Regions from separate parts of the Homo sapiens genome. Here region 1 is linked to region 2. The links are contacts of gene promoters, found by promoter capture Hi-C in blood cells and fetal thymus (Javierre and others, 2016). All regions are on one chromosome and are shown on one strand. The core of a region is centred on a gene start or on the middle of the fragment in contact, and the rest is flanking DNA. Distances in the headings are between cores, read along the strand shown. Region 1 overlaps LOC124902945 (a long non-coding RNA gene). Region 2 holds the start of BAZ2A (bromodomain adjacent to zinc finger domain 2A).

What was found. Contacts are between HindIII fragments. The CHiCAGO score rates a contact against its expected background, and 5 or more counts as called.
Region 1: a contact is called between a fragment that was not itself captured here and the fragment with the promoter of BAZ2A in region 2, in 2 of 17 cell types (megakaryocytes and endothelial precursors). The highest score is 11.2, in megakaryocytes.

Annotation. Positions count from the first base shown.
Region 1 is chr12:56,986,553-56,993,023 of GRCh38, forward strand. The region is part of intron 2 of LOC124902945 (a long non-coding RNA gene); the gene reads right to left. Among named protein-coding and RNA genes, the nearest start is that of ACKR5, 4.7 kb to the right of the region's middle. RefSeq lists a cis regulatory region at 4,602-5,416. The HindIII fragment of the contact is 313 bases long and covers 2,004-2,316 here.
Region 2 is chr12:56,628,294-56,634,472 of GRCh38, forward strand. BAZ2A (bromodomain adjacent to zinc finger domain 2A) reads right to left here and starts at 2,033. Exons shown (of 29, transcript NM_001300905.2): 1 at 1,832-2,033. RefSeq lists a silencer at 1,620-1,969 and enhancers at 2,190-2,239, 2,270-2,339, 4,889-4,938, 6,165-6,179. The HindIII fragment of the contact is 7,835 bases long and covers 790-6,179 here.

The DNA of each region.
Region 1 (6,471 bases), core at 910-3,409, 360 kb after region 2:
CTCCCCAGCTCTCTCTTTCTTGCTCCCACTTGCCATGTGACAAATCAGCTCCCCCTTTGACTTCTGCAGTGATTATAAGCTTCCTGATGCCTCACCAGGAGCCAAGCAGATGCATGCTTGTACAGCCTGCAGAACCATGAGCCAATTAAACCTGTTTTCTTTATAAATTACCCAGTCTCAGGTATTTATTATAGCAACACAAGAACGGCCTAACACACATTGTATACCAACACTCCTGGACCATGGTCTCCCAGAAAACAGACTTTACTGGGAAGCTACACATGGTTTCCAGGCACATTCAGTGGAAATCCTGCTCTGAGCCTGAGTTTCCTCATCCCACCCAGCATCCAGAATCAATCACTCCCCAGAAAAGTAGGGCACGATCAGGCTCTCTAGGATGAGAAGGAGAAGGCAAAAAAGTGAACAAGAGCAAGTCCCCTCCTGCTACAGTAGTTTTCTGGGGCAGAAAGATGTGGAACACCCACAGGGAGAGTCCAACCTCACAGGTAAAGAAAGGGGAAAGAAGGGAATGGAGCCTTGGAACCCACAGGAAGGAAGTACCCAGGGCTGCTGGGAAGGGGAATGGAATGACTTATGCAGGTGTCACAGGGCTCACCTGCTCACCTCCTGATATGCCCTGGGTGCTGGCTCCACTGCCCTCTGCCCTCCCCTGTCAGGGCCCACATCCAGGATCTGGACCCCTCAGACACTGAGAGGCTAAAAACATTGCTCATTTGAACAAGGACAATGAGGATGGTGGTCCAAAACCTTGCCCAAGCAGGGAAGGATATGAACCCTAGTAACTGTAAAGGTATTACTTCAGTTTGTATCAGGGTGTTGATGGACAGGAGGGATCTCCTTCTCAGGAGACTACAGAAAGGGGTACAGACTGGACCTCTGCTGTCCATGGAGGGTCCCTCGGTGTGAGGTCGAGGAAACTATTTCATAACTGGTGGGCAGGATGTAGAGGGGCAGGGAGCTGGGGGAGTAGGTGTGGGACAGAATAATCCAGGGTTTATTTGCACTGGGCCTCTCTCCCACTGTCCATGTTTGCCCAATTTCTGTCCCCTAATTGAAGGAAGAAGTGGAGATGGACTGGGAGGGGGAAGGAGAGGTTTCCTGCAGAAACCAGAGGCTAGCAAAGAGCCGCGCGCCCCCTGGTGGTTCTTCTCTAGCCCTGCAGTCACGACGTGGGCATCGGCCTGGGATCAGCCAAGGCTCTTCAGCTCATCCCAATGGCCACTCTCTCCAGCATCGGGGAGCCCCCATATCTCCCTGCACGGATCCTCCAAGAAGGAGGGAAACAGCAAGACTGCTGGCTGGTAAGAGACTGGACTACTGTTAATTAAGCAACATGGATGGTGCCTTGAGTGTGCTGCATACTAGAGGTTTGACAGACTCGGAGCCCCTTGAGGGCTCCGAGACTGAGTCCAGTCATTTTTGTATTTCCAGCCCCGGCAGTGCTAGCTTCTAGCAGAGATGAAGGAATGTTGAGGTAGCTGACACTGCAACATCTGGCTTCGCTTTCCATTTTCATCACTATTTCTTACATCATGCGACAATATGAGATTTCCTAAAGCCTCCATTTTTCTCATCTTTATAACGAGGGAGGAGAATCAAGATGACTTTGTCAAGTCCTCCCATCTCCAATTTCAGGGAGTCTAAGAATCCATATGCCTTTATTAAAATGGTGAAAACTTAGAAAGATGGGGTCTTGGGAAGCACTGGAGAATTTCTGACCAGCATACATTAGGTGCTCAACAAAAGTTAACAGAAACGGAAGAAATCTGGAACCAACAAGAGACTTACCACATCTACAGAGAGGCTGGGGGAGGGGTGCAGATCAGGAGATGGGAGAGTGAGGGAGAAACAGAAGCTGGGAGAGATAGGAGACCAAAGGAAGGGGGAAGGGTGGCGGCATGCGGGGAGGCTGCTAGTGCTGTAGGCGGCAGAGGGATATTAATAGTACCTGGGGCCCTTCCAGTCTCTTATCAGTCTTTTCAAGCTTCCTCTTCCTTAGACTGATGTCACACCCTCCCTTCTCACACTTGGGAAATCACAGAGGAAACAGTTGTCCTTCATCTAGTGAAAGATAGGGAATGGGAAGCAAAGACATTCACTTTCCCCTTTTCAAATCCCTCCGAGATCATCCTACAAATCCCTCAGCCTTCATGAAGGAGACACCTCCTTCCTCATGCAAGAAATTTCCTAGAATTCCCAGGGCTGAGTCAGCTCCACACAAGTGGATACCCAACATTGCTGTTTTTATCCTGACCCCAGTCTAGCAGAAGCTCTCCAAGGGTCATTTTTTTTTAAAGCTTTTGGACATCATGGGCCCCTTCGAGAATCTAAGGAAGGTTATAAGCCCCCCACATAACACAACAATCAAAAACTTGCTTATACTTTTCATACAGTTCACACCTAAAACCATTAGCTGCATGGAATCCAGCTCAAGAATCCTTGTAATATGGGCTTATTGACCTACTAGCTGTGTGACTGGGGCAAGTTATTTAAAGTTTCTGTGCTTCAGTTTCCTTGTCGATGGTAGTACCCACTCCATGAAGTTGTTATGAGGATTAAATGAGGTGATATGGATAAAGCCCCTTACAACTGTGTCTAGCCAATGGTGCGTATTCAATAAACATCAGCTGTTACTATTACTACATTTCTCTGTGGTAATTCATAGTGACATTTGGGAATGTTCCCACCCTTCTATGTAAAAAACACAACCCAAGACAGCCAAATAAAAGAGGAGGCTCATGTTGATCTAATTCAGAGAGGAAAAAAATGGCTGGTGGTAATAGGACTAGAGAGGTCTCTCAGTGTCAATTCCACAAGATGGGATTCCTTTTTCCTTATCCCCATGAAGTGGAAAAGGAGCATGCTTGTATATATTATCTCATGTATCCCATATAATAACCTGTAAGGGAAGCATCATTATCCTCACTTTACATATTAAGAAACTGACATTAAACTCCTATCTCTCACCAGACACAAAAATCAACTCAAGATGGATTAAAGACTTACATATAAGACCCAAAACTATTATTAAATTATTAGAAGAAAATCTAGTATTGCAGGAAAAATCTACTATCTAGTATAAGGAAAAGTCTCCTGGACATTGGACTAGGCAAAGAATTTATGACTAAGATCTCAGAAGCACAGGCAACAAAAACAAAAATAAACAACTGGGACTTAACTAAACTAAAAAGCTCTGCACAACAAAAGAAATAAGCAACAGAATGAACAACCCGCAGAACTGGAGAAAATATTTGTAAACTATTCATCTGACAGGGGAGATATCCAAAATATACAAAGAACTCGAGCAAGAAAAAAAAAAACCCCACAAATAATCCCACTAAAATGTGGGCAAATGACATGAATAGACATTTTTCAAAAGAAGACATTTTTCAAAAGACATTTTTCAAATGGCCAACAGATATATGAAAAAATGCTCAACATCACTAATCATCAGAGGAATGCAAATAAAAACCATGACGCGATATCATCGTACCCCAGTCAGAATGGCTATTATTAAAAAGATAAAAAAAAAAACAGATGTTGGCAAGAATGTGGAGCACAGAGAACTCTTAGACATTGCTGGTGGGAATGTGAACTAGTACAACTTCTATGGAAAACAGTATGCAGATTTTTCAAAAAACTAAAAGTAGAACTGCCATTCGACCCAGCAATCCCACTACTGGGTATTTACTCAAAGGGGAAGAAATCAGTACATTAAAAAGACACCTGCACTAGTATGTTTATCACAGCCCTATTCACAATAGCAAAGACATGGAATCAACCTAAGTGTCCATCAACGAATAAAAGGATAAAGAAAATGTGGTATATATACACAATGGAATACTATTTGGCCATAAAAAGGAATGAAATTATGTCTTTTGCAGCAATGTGGATGGAACTGGAGATCATTATTTTAAGTAAAACAATCGAGGCACAGAAAATCAAATATTGCATGTTCTCACTCATAATGTGAGTGCTAAAAGATGTGTACACATGGATGTGGAGAGTGAAATGGTAAACAGTGAAAACTTGGAAGGAAGAGGGAATGGGAGAGGAGTGGATGATGAGAAATTAGTCAATGGGTACAATGCATGTTATGCTTGTGGTGGATACCCTAAAAGCCCTGGCTTGACCAACATGCAACCTATTCATGTAACAAAACTGCACATGTACCACATCAATCTGTACAAATAAATATTTAAAAACAAAAAACAAAAGAAAAGAAACTGAGATTCAGAAAGGTTAAGTGACCTGCCCAAGATCACACAGCTACCAAGTGGTGGAAAAAAGTGTCAAAAACAGGTCTGACTCAAAAACTGGTGTTATCTCCACAGTGTCTCGTGAAGGGCCGGTGAAGAGGGAAGAACTGAGCAGAGAGAGCCAAGGACAGGGTAGTGGGGCACAGGCTTTGAGGAGCCTGGAAAGCTCCTAATCTGGTACTTCTGGGCAAACCAGATTCCTCTCTAGCTTGGGGAAGCTGGTGGCAGGAGGGCAGAACAACCTCCACGACTAGACTTGGCTTCCTGACTCAGTGGCCTTCTGGAAGTTCACACTGTGGACGCGAGTGCAATTACTGCCAAATCCCTCAGCCTTAACCTGTCCACAAAGCACCTGCCTCCACCCCATAAGCCAGGCACGTGGGTTGATCCCTGGGACAGCCTGCCTCACCCCTTCTGCCAGGGTCCAAGCACAGCCCTTTGCCTAACCTGACCCTGGAAAGTCGTCTGCCTTTATCTCTGCCTCCCAATACCTCCTCCCTGGTACCTTCCTTCCTTTCTGATTGTTGATCGCAAAATCTTGTCTACACTTTTTTGGGGAAAAAAAGTGGGGCGGGGAGGAAAAAGAGTAAATTTCCAGGAATTGTTTCACTGCTGCTGTTTCTGCTGCATAGGGCAAAGCTGCTGGCCTGCTCCTTTTGCCCAGGTTGGCGAGGAGCCTGGCCTCCTGCTCCTCCCTCTTTCTCTTCCTCCCAGTCTCTCTCTTTCCAGCTGCACCCCACCCCCTAAAAAGCCCCACATGAAAACTGCAGAGCTATCACTTATTTCTTCCTGAGGGAGGAGCTTTCCCTCTGAGCCTCTGCCAGAAGGAACCACCATCACTTCCTCTTTCTACAAATACACATTGGGTGACAGGAATAGGTGGGAGAAGGCAGCAGGTAGAGGTGAGGCTGCAGGGGGGATGTCTCCATATGGGAAGGACAATTCAGAGACCCAGGAGACAGGAGCCACTAAAGGGCAGTCTTGTGAGGAACGGAAGTGGTCACAGATGTGGCCATCTGGAGAGGACAAAGACCAGACCAGGGCCTTCCTTGGAGGGTGCTTGATCTAGGACAGGCTTCATTTGCATGGGTCAAAAGCATGTAGTGGGAAGGGGAAATTCTCAGAAGGCTCCTTACTGAAGAAAAATATCAATGGGATAGAAACTAAGACCCTAAAGGGAGAGAATAAGAGCAAAACTAACTGAAAAATCGAAGTAAGCCACATTTCACACTGTCATGGTTCATCATGATGGTTTTTTGTTTTTGTTTTGTTTTGTTTTTTTGAGACAGAGTCTCACTCCACGGCCCAGGCTGGAGTGCAGTGGCGTGATCTCAGCTCACTGCAACCTCCGCCTCCTGGGTTCAAGAGATTCTCCTGCCTAAGCCTACTGTGTAGCTGGGATTACAGGCATGCACCACCACGCCTGGAATTTTTGCATTTTTAGTAGAGACAAGGTTTTACCATGTTGGCCAGGCTGGTCTCGAATTCCTGACCTCAGGTGATACACCTGTCTCAGCCTCCCAAAGTGCCAAGATTACAAGCATGAGCCACCTAGCCTAGCCCATTATTTTTTTTTTTTTTTTTTTTTTTTAGGAGATGGGATCTAGCTCTCTAGATCCCATCACCCAGGCTTCAGTGCAGCAGGGTGATCATGGCTCACTGCAGCCTTGAATTCCTAGTCTCAAGCGATCCTCCCACCTCGGCCTCCCAAATACAGACTGTACCACCACAACTGGCTATTTTATTTTTTGTAGAGATGGGGGTCTCATCTTGTTGCCCAGGCTGGTCTCAAACTCCTGGGCTCAAGCAGTCTTCCCACTTCGGCCTCCCAAAATGCTGGGATTACTGGTGTGAGCTACTGCACCGGCCATGATAGATTTTGTGATCTTGGAGTGATCTGATATGTAAGTGGAAGGTTTAAGAAAACTACAAAACTACAAAATGAAAAATATTCCCTTCCATGGAGATAAATGGTGCTGATGGTTGCACAGCAGTGTAAATGCACTTAGCGCCACTGAATTGTACACTTAAAAATGGTTAACGTGGTAAACCTTACATATATTTTACCATAATAAAAGAATCAGTGAGCAAACTTTTAAAAAATGTTCTCTTTGAGTGGATAAAGAAAATGTGGTGTGTGTGTGTGTATATATATATATATATATATGGGAATATTACTCAGCCATGAAAG
Region 2 (6,179 bases), core at 783-3,282:
AATGCCTGGGGACATAGCACACAGTCCATCACTATATGTTACAGGAGAAATATCCTGGGATTATCAAGTGAAAAGAAAGAAAAAAAAAATCTGGGCACGACTTTGCAGGGAACAGAGGAAAAGCTTACCAATCTCCAAGAAGAATAAGAGGGGAGACGTTCTTTTATGGATTAAAGAGTAAGTCATATGATAACAAACTGTACTATTCTAATTAGTTGATTCTGCAGAAGGTAGTATCTCCAGCACCCCTTAGTCAAATAACAAGCTTCCCACAGGGGCTGCCCTTAGGCTAGAATCACCACCAAGGACTGAGTTCACCAATCTCAGTCTGTTAATCAGTCCCTACCCCCGACACACAAATCCATCTAATAGTTAAATCTTCCTCACCCCTTCCTCTTCGTCCATTTCTTAGAATCTACCCTTCTTCACAAGCTCACTTGCTCAGGTGCTCTGCAATATAGAAACTGTCATAATAACTATACTAAAGTAGGACCCCAAGAAGCTACTCGTGCCACAAAAGCTCTCTAGTCTCCCTGACAGCTCTCTATGCTGAGGGAATTTGCATCACTTACATAGAGCGTACCCCGCTGGTAGATAACTGAGTTTGCTTCTCTATGACCTCTAGCTAAAGGGAAAACAAAACGAAACCAGACAGGAAGACAGAGATGTTCTGGAGAAGGGATTGGGATACGTGAGTCAACTGAAGTTGACTACTTCCAGTTGACAAGTTTACAAAAAAAAAAAAAGTCCAACGAAAGGTCTCTCGGGCCACATGGTTGGCAAGATCCAAGCTTGCCCAGAAGGCTTCAGAAAATGAAACCAAATCTGATTAAAATGGACATTTCAAAACAACAAGACACGCAGCAGCAAACGCACAGCTGCCATTTCCCGGCCACTTCCTGCGGGAGGCTGGGGGAGGGGCTGTTTGTGTACAGATAGAGGTGGAAAGCTATCCCCTCCGTCGTCCCCCAAAGCAGACAAATCTCTCACTCCAATTAACCCTACAAAGGACAACTGCTATTGACATTGCCTTCTCCTGAAAACTGGGAACACCGGGAAAGAAAGGGATGATGCGGTATCATCTTTCTGCCACGGAAGCGGGGATCCCCTCAGTGAGGAATCTCCTTGGAAAAAGGAATTCCTCTTTATTCTTCCCTTCTGCCCCTCAGCCCAGCTCAAATTGGAAAGCCTCAGCGGAAGCCCTATCAACCTCCATCCCCGGAGTGCGCGATTCTCCCGGGACGCGAGGGCCCCAAGCCAAGCGCAGCACCACCCTCAGCAAGGAAGGCCCTCTCCTGATCTTCACGCTCAAGAGAATGGGTGCGCTCCCCGAGGGAGACACCCTCAGACCCCTGGAAACCCCTTCCGCCCTCCACTCACCACAGTCAAAACGCCCAGCTCCCCGCAAACGGAGCGTTTTAACCCGCCAAGGGAACCCCCTCACCCACCCCTCGCGCTCAGGCAATCCCCACCCCCACCCGAGGAGGTGGAGCCCCTCCCGGGGATTCCACCCCAAGTCCCCCACAGGAGTCATCTCCACCAGCCAGGCGGCTTCTCCGCCTCCTCACTGTCGCCGGGAGCCCCTACAGCTCCTCCTGCCCCCGCGGCCCCGTCCGGGGTCCTCAGCAGCCCCACCAGCCCTGTTCTCCTCCCAGACCCCAGAGCAAGGAGACCCTCGCCTCGGGTTGGATCCTCGCAGGAAATAAGCTCCCGTCGGCTTCCCGCCCCGGCAAGGCTCAAGCCGGCTCTGGAGCTTCTGTTCCCCGAGGGAAGCCTCGGATGAAAGCGGGGCTCCCTCCCCCTCAGGCCCCTGGCCACAGACCCCACAAACCTGAGGCAGCGGCGTCCAGCCGGGCTCGGGGCTCGTCTCTCCCCGGGGTACAAGCGGTTCACATGGCCGCGCTCCGGGCGCCAGAACGGGTGGAGACGCCCGCTGGGGAGGGGGTCTGGGGTCCGGGGTTCGGGAAGGGGGAGGGGGACGCGGCTCAACCGCGGGGCCCGAGAGGAGCCAACATGGCCGGCGGGGGAGGAGTGAGTCGGAGCCGGAGGGGGCGGAGAAGCCTCGGCCGGGAGAGAGTCTCCCCACGCGGCCTCCGCCACAGGGTCCTAAAGCCCGCCAGCCCATCTTTCCGACCCGGACCTGGGTCCTAGCGCCGCTGTGCCTCCTGCAACTCTGGCCACCTTGCCCACCTGGCAGCTCCCTCTGCACCCGCATCTCATGGAGGCAGTGGTCCTGCTTCACACAGGGCAAACTGAAAGGCATGCCACAGTCCCAAGGTTAACTTAAAAGACTAGACCAAACGTCTAGGCCCAAAGGCAGGTGCCACTTCTCTAACAGGCTGGTAGGGGTAAGAGTCAGGGGAATTTCGGGGGCAGTTATTTCCCAGGTAGGGTAATGGAAACGTGGAAATAGAAAGGTTAGTCACTCAGGTCGCGATTCAGTAAAGGGATGGGGAGAGGCAAGAGTCAGCCACCCACTCACCTCTGTCCCTTCAGTGCAGCCTGGTCCTGCCTGGATCACCACTTTCCTGGCGACATCTGCAGGGCCCTGGTCACCGGAAAGGAAAGATTCCTGTGCGTGGGGGAAAGAAGGTTCGGCTCTGGAACCAGACAGCAAAGACCTGAGTGTAGCCTAAATGCAGTCAGAGAAGTAAAGGATAAGCTGAAAACTAATCAGCAAAAAGATGCCACAAATGTCCACCCATTCTATGGTTCTGGGAATTTTTTTCTGACAGGGCTACATAACTGTGTGAAAACTCAGAAAAGTAAAATCTAGCAGAGGACTAGAGTTTGGCTGTCACCTAAAATGTCCACTGCAGGGCACCAGGATGAAGAACAGTGTCATATGATGTTAGAGCTTAGAGAATTTCTAGTTCAGGCCGGACGCGGTGGCTCACGGCTGTAATCCCAGCACTTTGGGAGGCCGAGGCAGGTGGATCATGATGTCAGGAGTTCAAGACCAGCCTGACCAACATGATGAAACCCGGTCTCTACTAAAAATACAAAAATTAGCTGGGTGTGGTGGCGTGCCCCTGTAATCTCAGCTACTCAGGAGGCCGAGGCAAGAGAATCGCTTGAACCTGGGAGGTGGAGGTTGCAGTGAACTGAGATCGCGCCATTGCACTCCAGCCTGGGTGACAGAGGGAGACTCTATCTCAAAAAAAAAAAAAAAAAAAAATTCTAGTTCAACCTTCTCTCCTTCATCAAATGAAGAAATTAAGACCCAAAGAGGTTCAATGACTTCTTCAATGTCAAACAGTGGATAAAATATGACAAGAAAGGAAACCAGGTTTCCTTTCCTTGCAACTCAACACTTTGCAGCCTTGAAGATAATTCCCATTTAATTCAATGCAATGCAGTTCTAGAAACAGTTGCCTAAACTGTGCAAAGCTCAGGCTGCTGAATATTCTGGAAAAGCAACAGAGTGGGGATGATGAAACTCTGGCAAGTTGGGGTGTCAACAAATACGTTTTCCTCTGGGGGTCTGAGGAGGAAAGAGATCTGAAAAATGGGCAGAGTTGGGGGGTGAGATCCATCAGTCTACATTGGATTTCCTTACTCCACAGAGGGGTGGGCTCTTCCTGAATTTTGGGGAAAGACTCCACCCCTCCACCCCCCCACTACAAATGGCTCAGAGAGGATAAGAAGGAAGCTAGCTTTAGCAAAGGCTCACAGAGTGTGTGGGCCACAGACACAGAAGGCTAAGGGGGTTTCTCTTCCTCTCTCGAGATAAGTAGATTACCAGTGGAGGGAATAGGCAGGTGGAAACCAAAACCCTTCTCTCCTCCCTGTCAAAACAACAGATTTACAGGTCACCTTGGGGAAAAAAAAATACTCCTCCAACAGCCTGCTGACCTCAAGTCCCTGAGTAAGTAGAGGTCACACTCAGGGTAGAGGTTTCCTTCCTTCTGGAGAAAGGAGGGCTCTGGCAAACTTCTGCTAAGAAATGCCTCTCTATCCCCAAATAAAAAATTAAGGCAGGTGAAGAAAGGCATAAAACTGAGGCCTCAAGGGCGGCGGGATGGGGGTGTGGGTAAGGAAGCTGGTATCCTTTTGTCTTCCCTGCCCTTTTCCAGAGCAGATGAGGGAGAATCTTCCTACCTCCTGCTCCCAATCTTAAAGGGGGCCAGTCGGGGACTGGGCAGGCAGGGGAGGAGCCTGCGCCCGTCAGACGGGTGTAGCCACGCCCCTCCCCACACCCACACACACCCACCACTGGCTCCACTCTGCTCCGGAAGAGCCGGTTACTCCTGTGCCCCACTGACCGCCCCCACCCCTTCCGAGCCCCAGGCCTAGTCTCCAGGGCAACCTTTAGGACTATTCCAGCCAGGAGCGGTTAGGAAGAGGGGTGTTGGATAGGAGAGGACCACTTGGGATTAGAAAAGAAAATGAGGTAGGATCCATTCTTCCCATCTGGTGCAGAAAGACTACAATCATCCTCATTCCTGAATGAGACCCCACCTCATCTCATCTAATCAGGATCTTCCTTGCTCTGAGGAAGGATGAGGTTGGGGTGACAGTGTGCCCAACAGCTGGATGTTTACTTCTTGCTAGAAGTCACCCCATGCTGCAGCTGTGCTTCTCCCCCCATCCAGACGAGAGAGGGCAGACTGACCCCAAATGTCCCGAAACACTCCTCAATCCCATCAGATGTGGCTGATCACCCACCCACCTCTCTTTTCCCCACCCATTTCCCTTCAGGAAGCTACTAGAAAGGGGAAGGGGCAAATGGTCATTTTATCAGCAACTTGTAAGGAGAGTCTCCAGGGAATAGGCTGAACCTCCCTCAAGCCAGGCCAGTGGACTAGTCATGAAGAGAATGGGGAGGGACAAATTAGCACCTGCACCCCCTTTCTCACCCTCCCTGTGTTCCTGCAGCACCTCCCTGACTCTGGGGTCAGCTGCCACAGTGCCTGGCTCCACTCTGTAGCCAGATGGCTAGGGCTGGGAGGAGGAAGAGAGAGAAGGGGATTCGTTTGCATCCCTCTACATCCTTCCCTCTCCCCCACCAGATACTCCTGGCATCCAACCCCAAACACCACTGCTGAACACCCTCTCCTCCCCCCAGCACCCCCTCCAAACATGACTTAGAAGAGTCTGAAGCAGATCTTGGCAGCCAGTCCCCTAATTCTGGAAGTGAGGAGTGGGAAATGAAAGAGCATAGCTAGGGGCGCAGCTGGACTGGGGGTGGAGGGGGAATTCTCTAATGGAGGTGGGATAATTATTAAAGACCTGCCTTCCCCTCACTGGCTGAATGGATCATACTGTTAACAGGATCTGTCTAGCAGGGAGATGGCTCTTAGCCGGGTAACCATTCCAACTAGACCCCCCCACCAGGTTAAAGCAAAAGTCTTCACCCCCTCTACAATCTGGGAAGGCTAGATTCTCCCATAACACATCACAAGGAAAACACCCCTCCCCTTCTTCCCCCACTTTTGTTTGTTTGTTTGTTTTGTTTTGTTTTGAGACAGTCTTGCTCTGTCACCCAGGCCAGAATGCAGTGTTGTGATCTCAGCTCGCTGCAACCTACGCCTGCCAGGTTCCAGCCTGCCAGGTTCAAGCGATAGTAGCTGGGATTACAGGCACACGCCACCACGACTGGCTAATTTTTGTATATTTTGTAGAGACAAGGTTTTGCCATGTTGCCCAAGCTGGTTTCGAACTCCTGACCTCAAGTGATCTGCCCACCTTGGCCTCCCAAAGTACTGGGATTACAGGCGAGCACACTCCACCCGGCCCCCTTCTCCCCTTTAAGTCGACAGGTGGCTCCTCAGATTCACACAGACTTGTTTCCAAACTTCCCAATGGGATTCTCTATGGTGGTCCTGGAAGTTAGAGAAAGCCCCTATTTCCTAGGGAGTCGGGGGGCTTCCTTTGCATCTGAACAGAGAAGACTGGACTTCTCTTGCCTTCCCCATCGCCCCAACTCCCTTAGAGATTTAGCCCCAGCTCCCCACGCACTCTCTCCCAACTGTCCCTGAGGCCCTGAAGCACAAGATTCCGGCAGCGCCCTGGCCCCCAGCTCCCAGGTTCTGGGGGAGGGGCCTTCCTAGGCTGCACCGACCAACCCTAGGCCCAGGAGGAGAGTCCTTCCCACCTGGGCTCAGTAGGCGGTGCTGAGGTTGGACCCCAAGCTCCCGGAGATGTAGGGTGGGGTGAGGACTACAGAAAAGGTTTAG